Regions from separate parts of the Homo sapiens genome. Here regions 1 and 3 are each linked to region 2. Evidence: promoter capture Hi-C in 16 types of primary human blood cells and fetal thymus (Javierre and others, 2016). All regions are on one chromosome and are shown on one strand. Each heading gives the region's core, a stretch centred on a gene start or on the middle of the fragment in contact. The rest is flanking DNA. Distances are from core to core; before and after follow the strand shown.

The links. The method cuts DNA at HindIII sites, captures the fragments that hold promoters and counts their contacts. A CHiCAGO score of 5 or more calls a contact.
Region 1: a contact is called between the fragment with the promoter of SMARCB1 here and the fragment with the promoter of GGT5 in region 2, in 6 of 17 cell types (M0 macrophages, naive CD8 T cells, fetal thymus and 3 more). The highest score is 7.3, in M0 macrophages.
Region 3: the fragment with the promoter of C22orf15 here is called in contact with the fragment with the promoter of GGT5 in region 2 in 1 of 17 cell types (monocytes); the score reaches 5.3 in monocytes.

What each region holds. Positions count from the first base shown.
Region 1 is chr22:23,785,560-23,788,259 of GRCh38, reverse strand. It overlaps SMARCB1 (SWI/SNF related BAF chromatin remodeling complex subunit B1), which reads right to left and starts at 1,294. Exons shown (of 9, transcript NM_003073.5): 1 at 998-1,294. The coding sequence starts at 1,090. The HindIII fragment of the contact is 10,586 bases long and covers 1-2,700 here.
Region 2 is chr22:24,243,634-24,246,333 of GRCh38, reverse strand. It overlaps GGT5 (gamma-glutamyltransferase 5), which reads left to right and starts at 1,252. Exons shown (of 12, transcript NM_004121.5): 1 at 1,252-1,781. The coding sequence starts at 1,609. RefSeq lists enhancers at 1-247, 1,360-1,915, 1,916-2,471. The HindIII fragment of the contact is 5,279 bases long and covers 1-2,700 here.
Region 3 is chr22:23,761,570-23,764,269 of GRCh38, reverse strand. C22orf15 (chromosome 22 open reading frame 15) reads right to left here and starts at 1,280. Exons shown (of 6, transcript NM_182520.3): 1 at 939-1,280; 2 at 97-183; 3 at 1-10. The coding sequence starts at 963. The HindIII fragment of the contact is 2,909 bases long and covers 1,242-2,700 here.

The sequences.
Region 1 (2,700 bases), core at 45-2,544, 460 kb after region 2:
TTTTAAAAAGGTAACATATACTAGCTGGGGACTGCCTTTGGAGCAAAAAAGGCTAGTTTGAGACAATCTGTAAAAACCTAATATATGGCCGGGTGTGGTGGCTCATGCCTGTAATCCTAGCACTTTGGGAGACCCAGACGGGCAGACTGCTTGAGCCCAGGAGTTGGAGACCTGCCTGCGCAACATAGCCAGACCCTGTCTCTATAAAAAACAAAAAACAAGAACCTAATAGACTTGGAACAAACACCCATTCAAAGGCCAGTAGAGTTTTCCTGAAGTCAGTCATCCAGTTGATGCAACAAAATGCAGCCACTCTAGTTAAGGGTTAAACATCCTTAGGCTCTTTCCCCTGTAATAATTCAGAATCAGTTCACAGATATGGAAAGTGTCAATCGCTTCAGAACTGCTGAAAGATCTAGCTTAGGCATGGGGCCCTTATTCACCCAAAAGCAAACATCTTCCTCCAATCTGTTTCTTCACCGGTAAACAAAGGTCAAAAGACCTCCACTGCTCACCTAAGAGGCAACAAACACAATGGGGATGAGCCCTCACTAAGTCCAGGGTTTCCAGCCTGCCATTTGAGGTTCCCACAAGTAGCAATACGGGGAGGGGTGCACGTGAAATTTACGACATCTAAAAAGGGTCAAAGGCAGCAGTGCAGTCCCCCAAGCGTCGCAGGGGCTAACTCAATATCCCGTTTCTTTGCGTCTGACTGGAAACCAACCCAGCGCGGAACCACTGGGGCCCCTCGCGGCGCCAAAATCTTGGCAGCACTGAAGGCGGCGGACCTCGGCGAAATAAGTAAGGAAATCCCAGGTCGATGAGGGGGCGGGGGCCACACCCGACACGCCCACTAGGCCACGCCCCACAGCCCCGAGCGCGCGCGCGCGCGCCCGCCCGCCCCGATGAATGGAGACGCGCGCTCTCGGCGCATGGGCCCGCCCCGGGGCTCCCGCGGGGCCGAGCCCGGGGAGGGCGAGAACGCGCCCCGGGCTACCTCGGAGCCGATCATGTAGAACTCGCCGTCGTCCTCCAGCTGGAACTTCACGGGCTTCTGCCCGAAGGTCTTGCTCAGCGCCATCATCATCATTGCGGCGGCAGAGGCGGGCGGCCGGAGCCGGGCTGCGAGGGATCAGGAGGGCTGGGGCGGGGCCGGGGCGTGCTGGGCCGAGGGAAACCGAAGCCGGAAGGCGAAATGCGGACCGGGCCGGGTACTGGCGCCTCAGCCGGGCTCCTCAGCCGCCGCCGCCGCCGCAGACGACGACCAGGCCGCCCTCAGTGCGCAGGCGCTGGCGTTGACGCTGACGCGCGCGCCGCCGCTCAAACAAAAGGCCGGGCGCGCCTCCGCGGACCCCTTAAAGGAGCCACGACTAATTTCTCTTTCTCCCAGGCTGCCTCCCAAGTCGTGGTGTAGAGGACTTCTCACGGACAAAAATAGCCAATGAGGTCCTGACTCAAGCAGTGGCTTTCCCAGTCTTACAGCCAGGACTGGAACTGAGCCCAGGGGAAAAGCAACGAAGTGAGGCCTGAAGGAGGAGGACCTAGTATCTGGAAGCCTGGGTGGTCTGGGCATGCTTTGGGACCCCAATCTCGTGCCTTAGCTTCCCCACCCCTAAAACGCAGTGCAGCTGAGCAGATAGGCAGGCCCCTAGGAAGAGATATCCCAGTTCCGGGCCTACGGCTGTCCCTGCAGCTGTGGAGGTGGGCAAAATGACAACAGCGGATGAGGCTTGGCAATGTTCAAAGGCCCAGGTGGTATTTGGTTTGGCTGGTGCATCAGATGAGCGTTGGAAGGGAGAGACACCTTCCACCTTCTCCATTCCTCTCTTAGCCTACACTCTGCTTAACCGAGCCCTGCAGTGGGGAGTGAAACCAGGCAGCCCAGCCCTGTGGCTCTGCCTCTTGGCTCTTACAGCGCGAAGCTAGTGAAACTAATGAAAGTCTGAAAGCAATCATGATTGAATAATGCAGGGAGTAAAACAGTGGCCCACTACTGATGATTTCACACCGTTCAATCTAATGAAATTGCAGCTGTGGCTGGGCTCAGCGGCTCATGCCTGTAATCCCAACTCTTTTTTTTTTTTTTGAGGCTGGAGTCTCCTGCCTCAGCCTCCCAAGTAGCTGGGACTACAGGCACCCGCCACCACGCCCAGCTAATTTTTTGTATTTTTAGTAGAGACAGGGTTTCACCATGTTAGCCAGGATGGTCTCGATCTCCTGACCTCGTGATCCGCCCCCCTCGGCCTCCCAAAGTGCTGGGATTACAGGTGTGAGCCACTGCGCCCGGCCTTGTAATCCCAACTCTTTAGGAGGCCAAGGCAGGGAGGATCACTTGAAGCCAGGAGTTTGAGACCAGACTGGACAAGACAGCAAGACCCTGTCTCTACAAAAATTCTAAAATAAATAAGCTGGGTGTGGCATGGCGGTGTGCACCTGTAGCCCCAGCTACTTGGGAAGTGGAGAGGGGAAGATCCCTTGAGCCCAGGAGTTCAAGGTTATAGTGAGCTGATTGCACCACTGCACTGCAGCCTGGGCAACAAAGGGAGACCCTGCCTCTCTTAAAAAAAAAAAAAATGCAACTATGCTATTACGAAGACACACATGGGGCTGGAAGGTAGGGCAAGGAGACACTGGAGAGTTGGGAAGGGCAGTGACTGAAGTTGCTTTGTTCTGTATCCTCACAGTGGTGGGAAACCAAAG
Region 2 (2,700 bases), core at 3-2,502:
GTCACTGAGGCTTGGGAGTCGGGTGGGGGCGGGAGGAGGCATCCACAGGCCCCCCACCGCGAGAGGCAGCCGTGGGAACAGCCTGCCTCTAAACAATCATTCCAGTCCAGGCTGACCAGGGGCTCTGGCTGGACATAGGGGCCTGGCAGGCTGTGTGGCCTGTAAGGACACAGTCTGTCTCTGTGCCTCAGTTTCTCTGCTGCCCAGATGGGGGGGCCCGGCTTCCAGGTGTAGACATCTGGAGCAGGCAGTGTTCAGCTGGGGAGGAAGCGGGGAGGACTGTGGGGGCCACGTGGGAAGAAGTCCAGCCCACATCACCTGCACCCCTGCTGAGCCTGGTCAACAGAGCCCCTCAGTGGGTCCTCACTCTCCTGGCTGCCTCCCATTTAGGCACCCTGAGGCCTGGGGAGAACAGAGCCAGGCCAGTGTCCCTAGAGAGGCTGCGCTGCCAGCACAGTAATAGCGGATTTGGATTCAGGGAAGCAGACCCGCAGCTAGGGTGGGAAAGAGCTACAGGCAGGGCGTGGCCTCCACACAGCCTCCCTCCCTGGAGGTCCATGCTGCATTTCCAGGACAGCAAGTCCTGGACAAATGGTCCCGGATGCCAAGGGCTAGAGGCATGGTCTGTCTGCATTCCCCACATGGGCGTCTTGTAGTCACCAGCATTTGATGCTGTCAAGTCCCCCTGTCCTCTGTGCAGACTGGGAAGCCCTTGGCCACCCTGGGGAGTTGTGGGACCCAGGCCAGGCTGCAGAAGCATAAGGACTTGAACCCAAGTTTTAAGTGACACCACCTTGTGTCCCCCTCCCTCTGCCTCTGTTCAGCTCCACCTTGATGCTGACTAGGCTGGGCCATGAGGAGAGGGTTAGGGGATAGAGATGGGAGCTGGGGAGCAGGGCTCCACTCTGGGAGGGGGGCAGCCTTGCCGGATCCAGGGGAGAGAGTTGAGCGGCCCCAGCTCTGCTTTCCCAGAGCTGCCGGGAACCCGGGGAATGGTGTGGAGGTTCCAGGGAGCCCTGCCCCTACCTGGCAACCGCAGTGCAGCAGGCACCAAGTTCTCCTGCACATTGCGACAGTGTGACCCTGGGCTCTGGCGGGCGGTAGGTGGGGCCTTTGGACCTACTAGCAGTGAGGGAGTTAACACAGCAGCTGACTCCTCTAGGCAAGGAAAACTCCCCTCAGACGCTTTGCTGCCTGGCCTCCTGCCAGCAACAAGCAGGAGCTGAAAACCAGAAGTTGAGGCGTGAGTTTGGCCACTCCGTAGTGTGCACTTGGTGAGGGCAGCAGCTCGCCACAGCTGCCAGCCATCTGTCCATTCACCCATCTGTCCATCTGGCAGCCCGCTGTTCAGACCTGTCTGTCTGTCCGCCCATCTGTAAGCCCATCTCTGTCCCATTGTCTATCTGACCATCTTTCTCTTACTGTCCTCTTTGTCTAGCTATCTGGCCTATCTGTCGATCCATCTTCGTGTCTGTCTTCAGCCCCCACCTGTTTGTCCATCTGTCCAATTACCTGTGACTCTGTGCATCTTCTTGTCCATTCATCTGCCCACCCATCCGTCCCTCCGTCTGCCCACCAGCCGCCCCTCTCCTCCTGGGCTGCAGAGCCATGGCCCGGGGCTACGGGGCCACGGTCAGCCTAGTCCTGCTGGGTCTGGGGCTGGCGCTGGCTGTCATTGTGCTGGCTGTGGTCCTCTCTCGACACCAGGCCCCATGTGGCCCCCAGGCCTTTGCCCACGCTGCTGTTGCCGCCGACTCCAAGGTCTGCTCGGATATTGGACGGTGAGTGAGACGTGGGAGGAAGCTGGGTGGCCCTTGGCAGCCAGCCCCTCCTGGAGAAGGCGTGTGTGTGTGTGTGTGTGTGAGTGAATGTATGTGTGGGTGTGTGTGTGAGTGTCTGGGTATGTGTGATTGCATGCATGTGTGGGTGTGTGTGAGTGTATGTGAGTGTGAGTGTGGGGAGTGTGGGTGTGTGTGAATGTGTGTGATTGTGTGTGGGTATGTGTATGTGTGGGTGGGTGTGTGTGTGTGTGTGTGTGCACGTGCACTGGCCCAGGAAGCAGGAGCCGTGTGTGTGTGGGCTTCAGCACCTGCAGGTCTTGGGCGCAAGGAGGCAGCCTCAGGGCCCTTGCACAGAACAGGTGGCAGGGTGTGCTCGTGGGGCAGATGGGGACTTGGGGACAATGGTGGTGTGTGAGTCCACGCCTGGCTCCAGGATTCAGGAGGCCCATTTGCATATCCCAGGTGGGAACCTGTCTGGCCCCGCCTGACCCTGCTGGCCGGTGCAGGCCCCTTCAGTGAGGCCAATTCTCCAAGGCTGCGGTCTTCTCCCAGGGTCATGGGTGAAGGGGTTTGGAGGCTCCCTGCGTGGGTACTGGCCTGCTGGGGTACACACAATGCTGCCATAGCCAGTCTGCCCCAACACCCAGCCTGGGGCCACATCTCGGGTCTCTCAGTCCTGAGGAGCCCGGTGCCCCACCCCTCACATCCTCTCTCCCTGAGTCAGGGCCTGGGTCTCGTGAGCTGAGTGACTGATACTTGGTGTCCTGGATGAGGGCGTGGTGGAGAGGGGCCACAGCGGGTGTTTCCTGACCCTCTTCCAGGAAGCCCAGCCCAAGGGAGGCCTCCGCTGCTGCTGCTGCAGAGGACACATACAGGATGCCCCTTCCTGCTCCCTGCCTCCCACTGGGCCCACAAAAGC
Region 3 (2,700 bases), core at 31-2,530, 480 kb after region 2:
GCAATGGTCGCTGGGAGGACATGGAGAGAGACTGGGCAGGGCTGGCACCCCTGCCTGGGACCCCTCAGCCCCTCCTTCTCCTCCCTGTCTCCTCACCATCTGGGGGCAACCCTGCTTTCTGCCTCAGGTGGGCGGTGAGGTTCACCAGCCTGCAAGAGGTGTTCACCAGCACCGAGCAGCCAGCTGTGGAGAGGGGCAAAGGTGAGCCTGTGAGATCTCTTACCTTCCTCCAAATCGGGGTCCTCTGTCTCTCCCTCCCATCTCTCCCTTTCCCAGAGCTGCGACTGGGCCTATGGGCTAAGACTGTGCCCCGGGCATAACAGCTCCAACATCTGTTGCTTAAACTGCCTTGGAGAACCCTCCATCCATCTCCCATGTGTGGTGACTTTTCTCCCATGTGTGGTGACTCCCAAGTGTTGGTCTCTTGAGTCCTGCAAAGCACGAAGTGGGCGCCAGCCCAGCCTCCTCCCGGGACCCGCCCCCACGGGACCCAGCCAGTCCCCGCCCTCCGCACCCACCGGCTCCTCTCTTCCCTTCCGCTACCGCACAGGGCCGACCCGCCTCCAGCCAGAGGCACGGGGACCCTGCAACTGTGGCTAGAGTTTCAGGTGTCTGATGCACGCTGAAGCTTGAGGATCACGGATTGAATGGCGAAGAGATTGTGCGGCTTAAAAACCTGCTCCAGGGTAATGCGGCGGTCTCTGGCCGAGAGGAACCCTTGTGAATGAGCAGGACTCAGCTCGGGTTTTCCCTTTAAGGGACTCGCTCCAGGTGCTGGCTTCGCCTCCTCACAGAGCCGCTTCCCCGACGACCCCCGCCATGTGCACCACCCCCCTTTCCCGCCATTGCCTCCCCACCCACCGCAAGGGCGGAAGGAAGCACGCCTCTGAGTGTGCTCATCCCCCTATCCGCCTACCAAGACAGGGGACCCCACTTACCCCCAAACATCACCTTGATAAACATAGCTGCAGCGGGTGAGGGAGATGTGGGGGGCTTTGATCCCCCAACTCTCGATTCCCCAACTAAGGAAAAGCGTGGAGCAGAGACCTGCTTCAGGGCCGGGCTCTGGAGGGAGAAGTGGATGTGTGAGTGTGGATGGCTGGGTCCCAGGGCCAGGCCCCTGCTCAGCCACCTCTGTGGTTCTGCTGCTTCAGCCTAGCTCAAACCCTGCAGCTAGTCCAAGACTCCTGGCCTCCTCTTCCTCCCCACTGAGCCCTGGGCCACAGCAGCTCCCCTAAGCTTCCAAGCTGGTCTCCATGGCAGTGGGGGCGGAGACATCTAGGCAGGAAATGCCTTCCTCCCTGTATCCGTTAACGGGGCCCATGGGGGAGAGGTGACAGAAGAAGTGGGGGCTGGCATTCCCTGAGGCGGGGAATGCCATCATTGGGATTGATTTTTTTTAGAGACAGTCTCCCTATGTTGCCCAGGCTGGTCTCGAACTTGGCTCAAGCAATTCTCCAGCCCCAGCCTCCCACAAGTGCTGGGATTGCAGTTGTGAACCACTTGTACAGTAAAGTTCACCCTTTCTGGTGTTTTAAAGTTATGCCAACTCTCATATAACCACCACCACAGTCAAGATACAGAACATTTCCATCACCCCCAAATTCCTTTGCCCCCTTTGTACTCAGCCCTAGTCGCTTCCAGGTCCATAGCAGGTCACAAGCACCTCCTTGTTAGCACTGGCCACTAGCTAGTCCCTCACACCGGTTCTCACCGTCATTTCCTGTCTTTTATTTATTTATTTATTAAGTTTATTAATTATTATTATTATTGGTGTTTTTTAAATTTTTATTTTTTGAGATGGAGTCTCCCTGTCACCCAGGCTAGAATGCAGTGGTACGATCTCGGCTCACTGCAACCTCCGCCTCCCGAGTTCAAGCGATTCTCCTGCCTCAGCCTCCCAAGTAACTGGGACTACAGGTGTGCACCACTACACCTGGCTAGTTTTTTTTTTTTTTTTTTTTTTTTTTGAGACGGAGTCTCGCTCCCTCGCCCAGGCTGGAGTGCAGTGGTGTGACCTCGGCTCACTGCAAGCTCCGCCTCCCGGGTTCACGCCTTTCTCCTGCCTCAGCCTCCTGAGTAGCTGGGACTACAGTCGCTCGCCACCACGCCCAGCTAATTTTTTTTGTATTTTTAGTACAGACGGGGTTTCACCATGTTAGCCAGGACGGTCTCAATCTCCTGACCTCGTGATCTGCCCGCCTCGGCCTCCCAAAGTGCTGGGATTACAGGATTACAGGCGTGAGCCACTGCGCCCGGCCTTTTTTTGTATTTTTAATAGAGATGGAGTTTCACCATATTGGTCAGATTGGTCTCGAACTCCTGACCTCAAATGATCCGCCCATCTTGGCCTCCCAAAGTGCTGAGCCACCAAGCCTGACCTATTTATTTTTTTTTGAGAATGAGTCTCGCTCTGTCAGCCATGCTGCAGTGCAGTGGCGCAATCTCGGCTCACTGCAACCTCCGCCTCTCGGGTTCAAGCGATTCTCCTGCCTCAGCCTCCGGAGTAGCTGGTATTACAGGCGCCAGCCACCACCCCTGGCTAATTTTTTGTATTTTTAGTAGACATAAGGAAGGCCAGGCTGGTCTCGAACTCCTGACCTCAGGTGATCCACCTGCCTGAGCTTCTCAAAGTGCTGTGATTATAGGAATGAGCCACTGTGCCCGGCCATTTCGGCCATTTCGTGTCTTTTGTATTTG